4 separate regions of the Homo sapiens genome follow, and regions 1, 2 and 4 are each linked to region 3. The links are contacts of gene promoters, found by promoter capture Hi-C in blood cells and fetal thymus (Javierre and others, 2016). All regions are on one chromosome and are shown on one strand. Each heading gives the region's core, a stretch centred on a gene start or on the middle of the fragment in contact. The rest is flanking DNA. Distances are from core to core; before and after follow the strand shown. Region 1 overlaps TBC1D5 (TBC1 domain family member 5). Region 2 has its middle 150 kb from the start of ZNF385D-AS2. Region 3 holds the start of KAT2B (lysine acetyltransferase 2B). Region 4 has its middle 170 kb from the start of ZNF385D-AS2.

What was found. Contacts are between HindIII fragments. The CHiCAGO score rates a contact against its expected background, and 5 or more counts as called.
Region 1: a fragment that was not itself captured here is called in contact with the fragment with the promoter of KAT2B in region 3 in 1 of 17 cell types (non-activated CD4 T cells); the score reaches 5.2 in non-activated CD4 T cells.
Region 2: a fragment that was not itself captured here is called in contact with the fragment with the promoter of KAT2B in region 3 in 1 of 17 cell types (M2 macrophages); the score reaches 5.3 in M2 macrophages.
Region 4: a fragment that was not itself captured here is called in contact with the fragment with the promoter of KAT2B in region 3 in 2 of 17 cell types (M1 macrophages and M0 macrophages); the score reaches 5.7 in M1 macrophages.

Annotation. Positions count from the first base shown.
Region 1 is chr3:17,730,134-17,733,118 of GRCh38, forward strand. All of the region lies in intron 1 of TBC1D5 (TBC1 domain family member 5), which reads right to left. Among named protein-coding and RNA genes, the nearest start is that of TBC1D5, 11 kb to the right of the region's middle. The HindIII fragment of the contact is 1,320 bases long and covers 901-2,220 here.
Region 2 is chr3:22,105,667-22,108,485 of GRCh38, forward strand. It overlaps a transcript of ZNF385D not described here. Among named protein-coding and RNA genes, the nearest start is that of ZNF385D-AS2, 150 kb to the left of the region's middle. The HindIII fragment of the contact is 4,489 bases long and covers 1-2,819 here.
Region 3 is chr3:20,039,046-20,041,876 of GRCh38, forward strand. It overlaps KAT2B (lysine acetyltransferase 2B), which reads left to right and starts at 1,401. Exons shown (of 18, transcript NM_003884.5): 1 at 1,401-1,735. The coding sequence starts at 1,433. RefSeq lists silencers at 663-1,302, 1,473-1,602, 1,803-1,862 and enhancers at 1,026-1,996, 2,713-2,831. The HindIII fragment of the contact is 5,734 bases long and covers 1-2,831 here.
Region 4 is chr3:22,122,497-22,125,388 of GRCh38, forward strand. It overlaps a transcript of ZNF385D not described here. Among named protein-coding and RNA genes, the nearest start is that of ZNF385D-AS2, 170 kb to the left of the region's middle. The HindIII fragment of the contact is 2,052 bases long and covers 359-2,410 here.

The DNA of each region.
Region 1 (2,985 bases), core at 311-2,810, 2.3 Mb before region 3:
ATGTTGTACTTTGATTCTTAAGAAGACGAAAGTATAGACAGGAATTAATTCATTCCACAATTTTTGTAGTTTCATTTTTTGTATTTTAAGTTTGTGTAGCAAATTAAGTAAAGTTGCAAATTCTTTGTCATTTTCTCCACCAATAGATGGAGTTTAATTCTCTTCCTCTTGAATCTGGGCTGACTCTGTCTTCTTAGCCAACAAAATACAGCAGAAGTAATGCTCTATCAGTTCCTAGCCTAGCCTTTAAGGGGACTAGGTTTTTCCACTTTTTGCCTCTTGAAATGCTTGTTCTTAGAGCACTCCTTCTTAGAAACTACCAGTCATGGCCAGGCCACAGGAAAAGGCCTCATTTAGTACCTCTAGTAAATAGCCCTAGCTGAGCTCCTGGACAGCAGCCAGCATAAACTGCCAGCTATGTAAGTGAGCCATTTGGAAGTAGATAATCTAACCCCCACTGAGCTGACACCAGATGAAACGAAGATAAACTACCCTCAATGAGTCCTACAAAAATCATAAAATCATGAGTAAATAAATATTACTGTTGTTTTAAGCTGCAAAGTTTTGAAGCCATTTGTCACACGGCAGTTAACAACCAGAACAGCCTCTTATTTACTGCTGTATTTTTAACACATAGAACAGTACCTGGTATTGGACATCTATTTTTAACAAGCACGCCACCAGAAGTATTAAAGTAAAGATGTTATACGTGGCCCTGGCACTCACAGAGCAGTCAAAAGCATGACATAGACTAATGAGTAAAAAGGTAATTATAATTCACAATAAATATTATAATTCATAATTCATAATATTTATGTATTATGAGTAATACATAAATATTATAGTATAGAGTATTTGGCCAAACAGGAAGAGCACAACACAGACTTGGTAGTATAAAGAAGCTTCCTGGAACAGAGTGGCATTTAAGCTAAGACCTTACAAAAGTGAGTAAGATGAAGAGACAGAAAAACTACTCTGTGCCCAAGGCAAGCAAAAACATGAACAGTTCCAAAATCAAAGAATTTCAGTATTTTTTACTTTTTTACAAAATCACATAATATAAGGGAGGCAGAAGAGGGGGTCATGAGGCTGGGTGCAGTGACTCACGCCTGTAATCCCAGCACTTTGGGAGGCCGAGGCGGGCGGATCACGAGGTCAAGAGATTGAGACCATCCTCGCCAACATGGTGAAACCCCATCTCTAATAAAAATACAAAAATTTGCTGGGCATGGTGGCACACGCCTATAGTCCCAGCTACTCTACTCAGGAGGCTGAGGCAGGAGAATTGCTTGAACCCGGGAGGCGGAGGTTGCAGTGAGCTGAGATCGTGCCACTGCACTCCAGCCCGGCGACAAAGCAAGACTCTGTCTCAAAAAAAAAAAAAAAAAAAAGAGGGTGTCATGAGACTGGAAATAGGCAATGGAGAATATCAGGTTTTAAGCCACAGAATAAGAGAATCGTGAGAGCTTAAAAAGATTACCTACCTGGCTGCGGGGACACCAGTCAGAAGACCTTACAGAAACAAAGGCAAGAGATGATGGGGACCTGAACTAGAGAAGACATAGTAGGGATGAAGACACAATGGGTTCAAATCCACAGGGTTGAGTTTGATGCCTGTACATGAGGATGTAGAGAATGGAGTAAAATGTGTCTGCCACGTTTCTGGCTTGAATAACTAGGGAGATGGTAGTGCTGAGATTAAAAAAAAAATTAATTTAATTAAAAAACACACACTTGTAAAGATTTTTTGTAAGAGAAGAAGGTAAATTCTGTTGCAGACTTACTAAACTGAGTTTCCTGTGAGCCATTAAGAAGTGGAGTTATCCAGTAGGCAATCAGATACACAGATCTGAAAGTTCAGGGAGGAAATCAGGTTGGAGGTCTAAGATAACAGACTCTTCGGGCCAGGCCTAGTGGTTCACACCTGTAATCCCAGCACTTTGGGAGGCCGAGGCAGGCAGATCACTTGAGGTCAGGAGTTAGAAACCAGCCTGGCCAATGTGGTGAAACCCCATCTCTACTAAAAATACAAAAATTAGCTGGGCATGGTGGTGGGCGCCTGTAATCCCAGCTACCCAGGAGGCTGAGGCAGGAGAAGCCCCTGAACCTATGAGGCAGAGATTGCAGTGAGTTAAGGTCACACCACTGCACTCCAGCCTGGGCAACAGAGCGAGACTCCATCTCAAAAAACAAAAAACAAACAAAAAAAGACTCTTCAGAAGCTTTTTCCATCTTGGTGACACTACTCCCACACTATCTACTTTGTAACATTCAACCACTCAGTTACTATTCTATAATTTTCTGGCTGGGCACGGTGGCTCACGCCTGTAATCTCAGCACTTTGGGAGGCCAAGGCGGATGGATCACCTGAGGTCGGGAGTTCAAGAACAGCCTGACCAATAGAGATGGCCACCAGAAGAGATGGCAAAACCCCAACTCTACTAAAAATACAAAAATTTGCCAGGCCTGGTAGCATTCGCCTGTAATCCCAGCTACCCAGGAGGCTGAGACAGAAGAATGGGAGGTTGCAGTAAGATTACACCACTGCACTCCAGCCTGGGTGACAGAGCGAGGCTCCGTCTCAAAAAAATAAATAAATAAATAAATAAATAAAATTTAAATATATATCTATAATTCTCTGACCGTTTGTCTTTATGAAGTATCTGTCTCTCCTTTCATTAATTCTTCCATATCAGTAGTTTCATGTTATAAGGACACTCAACTTTAATCAATACTTTGCCACACCCTTTGCAAAGTGGAATACATGATTGCCACTGATCATGAAATTTTGTAGTAGTTTTGTGACAAGATGGGGACATTAGGGAAACTGATCAGGACCACTTCCCATACTGGTAGAAAGCATATAGTACTCCTGATCAAAGTAGAAAGGAGGTAAGGAGCAATTTTCTGAAAGAAAGGAGACAAGGTATATCTAGAAAATAAACAGGAAGCCAGAAAATCAGTAAGAGGGCAGAATCAATGGAG
Region 2 (2,819 bases), core at 267-2,766, 2.1 Mb after region 3:
CAGTAAGGCAGAGAATCAATTCAACCTTCCTCCACCTTTTTGTTCTATTAAGGTCCTCAATGATTGGGTGATGCCTACCAACATTGGGGAGGGCCATCTGCTTTACTCAGTCCAATTCCAAAGGTGCTGTTTTTGAGAAACACTCTCACAGACAAAATAATGTTTAACTGGCTGGGCATCCTGGGACCTAGGCATTTTGACATATAAAATTAATCACCAATTAATATAGTAGTTATTTTTAAATCTGTGAATTTATCTAATTTAATAGTACACATCTGTTACTATTGTATTTTGAGTAATCATAAATAACTTTCATATTACTTTAATCATAAATAAGTTTTAGTAAATACAGTAGTATCCCTAGCATATGCTTAGTCATTATTGATAGGATAAATCACCCCTAGGACTCTGAAACTCTGACTTCAGCAAGAGAAATTCTGATTTGATAGGACTAAAGCAGAGCCCAGGTATTTGTGGCTCCAAAAATCTCCATGGGATGTTCTCACTTGCTACCTGAGTTGAAAATCACTGCCATAAATATTAGGTTGTAAGGAAACTGGTCATCGACATAATCAGGTTTTTCCCAGTAACAAACCTATGCCCTTAACACATAGTATCTATTCTACACAACACTTGGATGAAGTAAGGACAATTACTGCTTACATTTGAAAGATGATGAAACTGAGATACCATCTGCCCTTTGGTCACTGTTCTCCTAGGTCCAGCTGAAAGGACAAAAAAATCTTACATTTTCCAATCTCTGTCTCATACAATACAGAGTACCTGACTGGGCAGCCTTTTAGGACCTTTTTCCTTAAATTTCAGTGAGTTACTGGAAAAGGTTTGCTGTCTTCTTTCCAGATATGACTTTAGCTCCTGGGCATCTGATTTGATGCCCTTATTAGTCAGCTTGAGTCTCTCTCTCACCAGTCCCTGCCCCCTTGGTTTAATACCAGCTCCAGAAAGCCAAGCCGTCAACCTGAGGCCAGTTGGCTGAAGGCCTGACCTCTTACCTACTACTTGTTGGTTGTAACCCTTGGAGTTGAACCTGTCTTCCAGAATCCCTACAAATTGCCTCATGTGACGCAACTGGATCTGTAACTTGATCTTCTACCTAATGCGGAGAAGCCTGACAATCTTGGATCAGTATCAGCATAGGTTAGACTATCAACCACCACGATCCCTTAACTTGTGATTTGGGCACTCATTCTTCATAAGAGTGGTCACCTAACTCTTCCTCTACTCTTGCTAGTTATGGTTAGTTGCTGCTCTCTCTGAAACATCTCTCTGACATGAGCTCCTGGCAGGCATAACTGATTTAGCCAACTTATCTATTTATGCAAAAACTTTGGAATGAGAGTTTTTTTTTTTTTTTTAGACAGAGTTTTGCTCTTGTTGCCCAGGCTGGAGTGCAATGGAGTGATCTTGGTTCACCACAACCTCCACCTCTTGGATTCAAGCGATTCTCCTGCCTCAGCCCCGGAGTAGCTGGGATTACAGGCATGTGCCACCACACCTAGCTAATTTTTTATTCTTAATAGAGACAGGGTTTCTCCATGTTGTTCAGGCTGGTCTCGAACTCCCGACCTCAGGTGATTTGCCTGCCTTGGCCTCCCAAAGTGCTGGGATTACAGGCACGAGCCACCGCACCAAGCCTGGAATATTAGTTTTTAAAAGGCTATTTTCCTCTTGTCAGAAAATTATGTTAAATTTTCTAGATTTTTTTCTGAGAGTCAGGACTGTAAAATCATTGATACATGGGGAAAAAAGCAAAGTTTATACATGGAAATATATTTTAAAAACTACTAATCTTAAAAAACTCTAGATTTTCTGATATAAAATAGGGTAATAACTGAAGACTTTATATGCAAGTAGGAACCTAACCTGAGATGACTTCTTTAGTGACTACAAATTACATAATTTTATTTAAAGTATAGAAACAATATATGCTTACTGCAGGAAAATATACAAAAATATGCATTAAAATATTAAATAATCCTATCAAAAGCTGTTTGCCAATTGTTGATATATTTCCTTCTAGTCTTTTTTCTGTGCATGCGCTGTATGATGTCAACTGTATGTATATATTTCTCTACAGGTAAATTTTACATCCATATGTAGTGTGGTATTAATAGTGCTTGTTTATGTCTATATTTATATATGGAATGGCATGGTTTGAATGTGTCTGCTTCAAAATTCAGGTGTTGTCAATGTGATGGTATTATAATGGGGTGCCCATAATAGGTGATTAGGCCGTGAGGACTCCTCCCTCATGAAAGTGATTAAGGCCCTAATAAAGAGGCTTCAAGCAGCTTTTGGCTATCTCCTGCCCTTCTGCCTTATACCATGTGACGATGCAGAAAGAACGCCCTTACTAGATGTCAGTGTATTGATCTTACACCCCCAAACCTCCAGAACTGTGAGAAATAAATGTCTATTCTTTACAAATTACACAGTGTCAGGCATTCTGTTACAGCAGCATAAAGTGAACTAAGACACAGAATAAACTGAAATATTTGTATGTCTGCATACATACACACATATATAGAGGACACAATGTTTTACTTTGCTTTATTTACAGTAGCAACTTCTTACTCATTTTAATCCACAATTTTGGTCAGAACATCTGTCGAGTGTTCGATTTTCTTGGAAGATGTGTTTATTAACACAGAAACTATACATATAATGAAAGGTTTTTTTTGTTTTTTTTTTGCATGATCTGTCAAAACACAAAACTTCCTTAAGAGGAAAGAAGTAAGGGTATGAAATGCAACTATAGCTTCCTGATGACAGGGATTAAAAGATTTGAATGAGTGCAC
Region 3 (2,831 bases), core at 151-2,650:
GGCCTGAGAGCTATACAGCATGCATAAAATCTGATAATAAGCACATTATGACCCACATTGCATATAACAAAAAGTAGGGCACTTCTGAAGGGTCCTGAGAAAAAGCCCTGGGCTTTTAAAACCTGCTTAAGAAGGCGATCAACGGTACACCACTTTCAAACGCAGCACTGACTTGTATGCTCCACAGTCATCAACAGTGAAAACAACAGTTTTCAACAAGAGTTGGAAACACTGAGTTGAGGGTTTTTTTTTTCTTTTTAAAGTTTGAGGCCAAAATCGATATTTATTCTTTTGAATTATGCTTATATCTTTTTCCTGGTTAATACGCACGCGGTGGCACAATTTTGAAAACTACGTAACGTTATAGAACCACCACCCAGAAACGAATCCTGTTAACAAACTTTTTGTATTCAAACTTTTTCCACTGCATAGTTTTTGACAATGCTTTTTAGACAATCTTTCTTTTAGCAACCAGCACTTTCAAACAAAAATTACAGAGAATAGTAAGTTTTTTTCCCCTCCTCCGGCAGATTTGACCCAGAAATTGCTATGGGAAGAAAGTGTTAATTATATTAAAAAATAGTTTGACAGAAAGTATTTAAAAAGAGAAAGGGAGAACATCACGTCTTTATTTTGGTGAATTAGCAACAAAGAAAAAGATTAGCATGGACGGGTACTTTTCAAAAATATATTTTTTTTCCTCTGGCTCCCGCTAGGGTGGAGGAAGTTGTCTCTCTGTCAGAGACAGGGTGGAAGAGAGTGAAAGGACAAATGATTGAGAGGCTGCCCCCTCCCACTGGTGCAGGCGTGCGGGGGTCGGATGGGGGGCCGCGGAGGGGGGAGGTGGCCAGCAGGTGCCTGGGCTCCAGGCCCCTACCCCCACCCTCGTCCCCACCCTCACCCACACCCAGGGATTGGCCTCGCCCCCTGGCGGGCGAGCGGTAGGTGTCGAAGCACTGGGGTGGGGGGTGCAAACCCCGCGGGCAGCGGAAAAGAGGCCGTGGGGGGCCTCCCAGCGCTGGCAGACACCGTGAGGCTGGCAGCCGCCGGCACGCACACCTAGTCCGCAGTCCCGAGGAACATGTCCGCAGCCAGGGCGCGGAGCAGAGTCCCGGGCAGGAGAACCAAGGGAGGGCGTGTGCTGTGGCGGCGGCGGCAGCGGCAGCGGAGCCGCTAGTCCCCTCCCTCCTGGGGGAGCAGCTGCCGCCGCTGCCGCCGCCGCCACCACCATCAGCGCGCGGGGCCCGGCCAGAGCGAGCCGGGCGAGCGGCGCGCTAGGGGGAGGGCGGGGGCGGGGAGGGGGGTGGGCGAAGGGGGCGGGAGGGCGTGGGGGGAGGGTCTCGCTCTCCCGACTACCAGAGCCCGAGAGGGAGACCCTGGCGGCGGCGGCGGCGCCTGACACTCGGCGCCTCCTGCCGTGCTCCGGGGCGGCATGTCCGAGGCTGGCGGGGCCGGGCCGGGCGGCTGCGGGGCAGGAGCCGGGGCAGGGGCCGGGCCCGGGGCGCTGCCCCCGCAGCCTGCGGCGCTTCCGCCCGCGCCCCCGCAGGGCTCCCCCTGCGCCGCTGCCGCCGGGGGCTCGGGCGCCTGCGGTCCGGCGACGGCAGTGGCTGCAGCGGGCACGGCCGAAGGACCGGGAGGCGGTGGCTCGGCCCGAATCGCCGTGAAGAAAGCGCAACTACGCTCCGCTCCGCGGGCCAAGAAACTGGAGAAACTCGGAGTGTACTCCGCCTGCAAGGTACGCGCTCGCCGCTCTCGGACCGCGGATGGGTGCTAGGGGCCCAGCCCGCGGGACCCCCCTCCCCCTCCCGCTTCCACCTCCGCCTCCCGCCTCCTGCCTCTCGCCTCCCGCCTGGGGCCGCTGCACCGCGGAAGTGCTCTTGTCGCCCGCGCCCAATTAGCTTCTTCTTGGATAAGAGTCCTGCTGGGTTTGAAGAAGGGGGATCACTAAGACGGAGAGCCCTTCATTCCTTCCGCTTGAAAGGAGTAGCTTCGGCATCCGAGCTCCCGGGCTACCTTGGGGTTTTGTTGCTCTGTAGGAGCTCGCTGGAGTCACTTTCCCGGGAGTGGAGCGGTGCTCTCCATGTGGCGGGTGACCCAGGGGCAAGGAAAAATCTTTTGGGGGACTGAGTGGTCCCTTCTGCAATCGATCCCTTCCTGTGTCCCACTGGGAGGAACTGGGTGCAAGGAGTGGGGGTGGAGAAGACTCCCGGACTCCTGGCGCTTTGGGAAAGCGAAGGGGAGGAAAGCGCGGGGTGGGAAGGTGGGCAGAGTCCGAGGCGAGGGTCTTGTGGTGCCTGGCGCCCTCGGCTGGGGGCGGAGGCACTGCCGCGCGCGGTGACAGCCCTGTCATTATTGTATTATTACTTGTTTAGTTAAAACGCTGTCCCAGCTGCTCGAGGTGTAAACAGGATTTGGCAAAGTGACAGCCCAGCGCGGCGGGCGCTACTGCTCAGTTTGAGGACACCCATTTCTTGCTACCCACTCTCCATGCCAGTTTAGGCACCCTGTCACCTCCAGCTGCAGATCCAGATGTGGAGGCTGTGTTCCCGAGGTGGGAGGATTGCCCGAGGCCGCGGGGCAGGCTGGCCCTGCGCTGTCAGCAGCGGCTTTGTTTTGACAGGGTGACAGCTGAGGGGGGCGGGGACTTGGCCTTGTCAGCTCCTGCGGCCTGTGGCTGAGGCAGGGAAGAGACACACTCACACACACTCACACCTCCCTGTATTCTTCCTGCCTGCTGTAAAGAGGGTCAAGTTCCCAGATTCCAGATTCCCGATTGTCACAACCAAGCTGCAGTGACCACTTCTGAATTTTGACATAACTATAATTTATTC
Region 4 (2,892 bases), core at 135-2,634, 2.1 Mb after region 3:
AGCACTAAATATATGTCAGAATCTTTTCTAGGTGCTGATGACACAGCCATAAAGAAAAGTGACAAAGCTCTCTGCATTTGTAGAGCTTAATTTCAAAAACAGAAAGAGAAAAAAATAAGATAATAAGTGTCATATAGGGTTTCTTGAATAATAAGTTCTATGGAAGAAAGAAGAACAGAGAGTATATATATGGGGGAGGTAACAATTTGGATATGGAAAGTACCAAGAAAGGCCTACTGAGACGGTGACATTCGAGTCACATGCTAAAGGGGGTGAAGAAATGAGTCATGCATGCAGTTTTCTGAAAATACTTTAAACAGAGGCAACATCAAATGCAAAGGCCCTGATGTAGAAATCAAGCTTCCTTTGCATTGGCAAAAGATGAAGTAAAGCAGTATGGGTGAACGCCATAAGTGACTGGAAAAGGAGCAAGAAATGATTTAAGAAAAGTATTAGGAGATAAGATCATATAGGGCTTTGGAGGCAACTTTAAAGACTACTTTTATTCCAAATGCAATGGGTTGTCATGGAGGACAACCATGACATTCTTTCCTTTGAGCAAAAGAAGAATAGCATCTGACATCTGTTCTGATAGAAACACTCTGGATGATGAGTTGATAGATTGTTGGGAGTGATTAGAATAGCATAAGATGAGATGCAATGGGATGAGACAGGATGGAAGAGAAGAGAAGAGAAAAGAGAAAAAGTGGAGGGGAGAAGCGGGGGAGACTGAATTACCAAGAAGGTAGGAGGAGTAGATCTTAAAGTGAGAAGTTCAAGAGTACAGTTTTACACAAGTTATATTTGAGATATTTATTTATATAATTAGTTTTTAAAATCTTTATGGGTACATGGTAGATGTATATATTTACGGGATATTTTGGTGTATATATTGATGAGGTAAGTGTATATATTTATAAAATATTTTGATACAAGCATAAAATGTGTAATCACACCACGGTAAATGGGGTATGCATTACCTCAAGCATTTATCATTTCTTTGTTACAAACTTTCCAATTGTACTCCCTCAGCTATTCTAAAATGTATATAAAATGTACAACAAAAAATTATTGCTGACTGGGCCGGGCGCGGTGGCTGACGCCTTTAATCCCAACACTATGGGAGGCCAAAGTAGGTGGATTACCTGAGGTCAGGCATTCAAGACCAGCCTGGCCAACATAGTGAAACCCCATCTCTACTAAAAAGTACAAAAATTAGCTGGGTGTGGTGGTGGGCACCTGTAATCTCAGCTACTCGGGAGGCCGAGGCAGGGAGAATTGCTTGAACCCAAGAGGCGGAGGTTGCAGGGAACTGAGATTGCACCACTGCACTCCAGCCTGGGCAACAAGAGCAAAATTCTGTCTCAGAAAAACCAAACCAAACCAAACCAAACAAAAACAAAACAAAAACTAGAGCTAGACTCCATCTCTCTCTCTCTCTCTCTCTCTCTCTCTCTCTCTCTCTCTATATATATATATATATATATATATATTGCTGACTGAACTCATCCTGTTGTGCAAGCAACTGCTAGGTCTTATTCATTCTATCTAACTATTTTTGTGTGCATTAACCATTCCCATTCTCCCTCACCCCTACAATTCTCAGCTTCTGGTAACCGTTATTCTACTCTCTATCTCCCCGAGTTCAACTGTATTAATTTTTAGCTCCCACAAGTGAGAATATGTCATGTTTTTCTGTGTCTGGATTATTTCATTTATTATGTCCTTCAGCTTCATCCATGCTGTTGCAAATGACATGATCTCATTCTTTGTAATGGCTGAATAGTACTTCATTGTGTATAAGTACCGCATTTTCATTATCCATTCATCTGTTGATGGACACTTAGGTTGATTCCAATTCATAGCTATTATAAATACTGCTGCAAAAATCATGGGAGTGCAGATATCTCTTTGATATACTGATTTCCTTTTTAGGGTATACATACTTAGCAGTGGTATTGCTGGATCACACAGTAGTTCTATTTTTAGTTTTTTGTGGACCTCTATACTTTTCTCCATAGTGGCTGTACTAATTTATATTCCCACAGTGTATGAGGATTCCTGTCTCCACATTCTCGCCAGAATTCATTATTGCTCATCTTTTGGATAAAAGCATTTTAAATAGGGTGAGGTAATATATCGCTGTAGTTTGGATTTGCATTTCTCTGATCAATGATGCTGATCATATTTTCATATATTTGTTTGCTATTTGTATGTCTTTTTTGCGAATTGTCTATTCAGATCTTCTGTCCACTTTTAATTGGATAAATATATTTTATCCTATAGAGTTGTTTGAGCTCCTTATATATCTGGTTATTAGTTTCTTGTCAGATGGATAGTTTGCAAATAATTGTTTCCCATACTGTGCGTTGTTTCTTCACTTTGTTGACTGTTTCCTTGGCTGCATAGAAGCTTTTTAATTTGATGTGACCCCATTTGTCCAATTTTGGTTTGGTTGCCTGTGCTTGTGGGGTATTATTCAAGAAATATTTTCCCAGACCAACATCCTGGAAAGTTTCCCCAAGGTTTTATTTTAGCAGTTTCATAGTTTGAGATCTTAGATTTAAGCCTATAATCGACTTTAATTTTATTCTGTATGGGAAAAAAGATAGCAGCTAGTCCCATTCTTTTGCATACATATGTTCAGTTTACCCAGCATCATTATTGAAGAGACTATCCTTTTCCCAATGTATGTTCTTGGCACCTTTGTTAAAAATGACTTCATTGTAGGTGTATAAATTTATTTCTTGTTTCTCTATTCTCTTTCACTAGTGTATGCATCTGTTTTTAAGTCAGTGGCATGCTGTTTGGGTTACTATAGCTCTGTAGCATAACTTGAAGTCAGGTATGTGATTCCTTCAGTTTTGCTCTTTTTGCTAAGAATAACTTTGG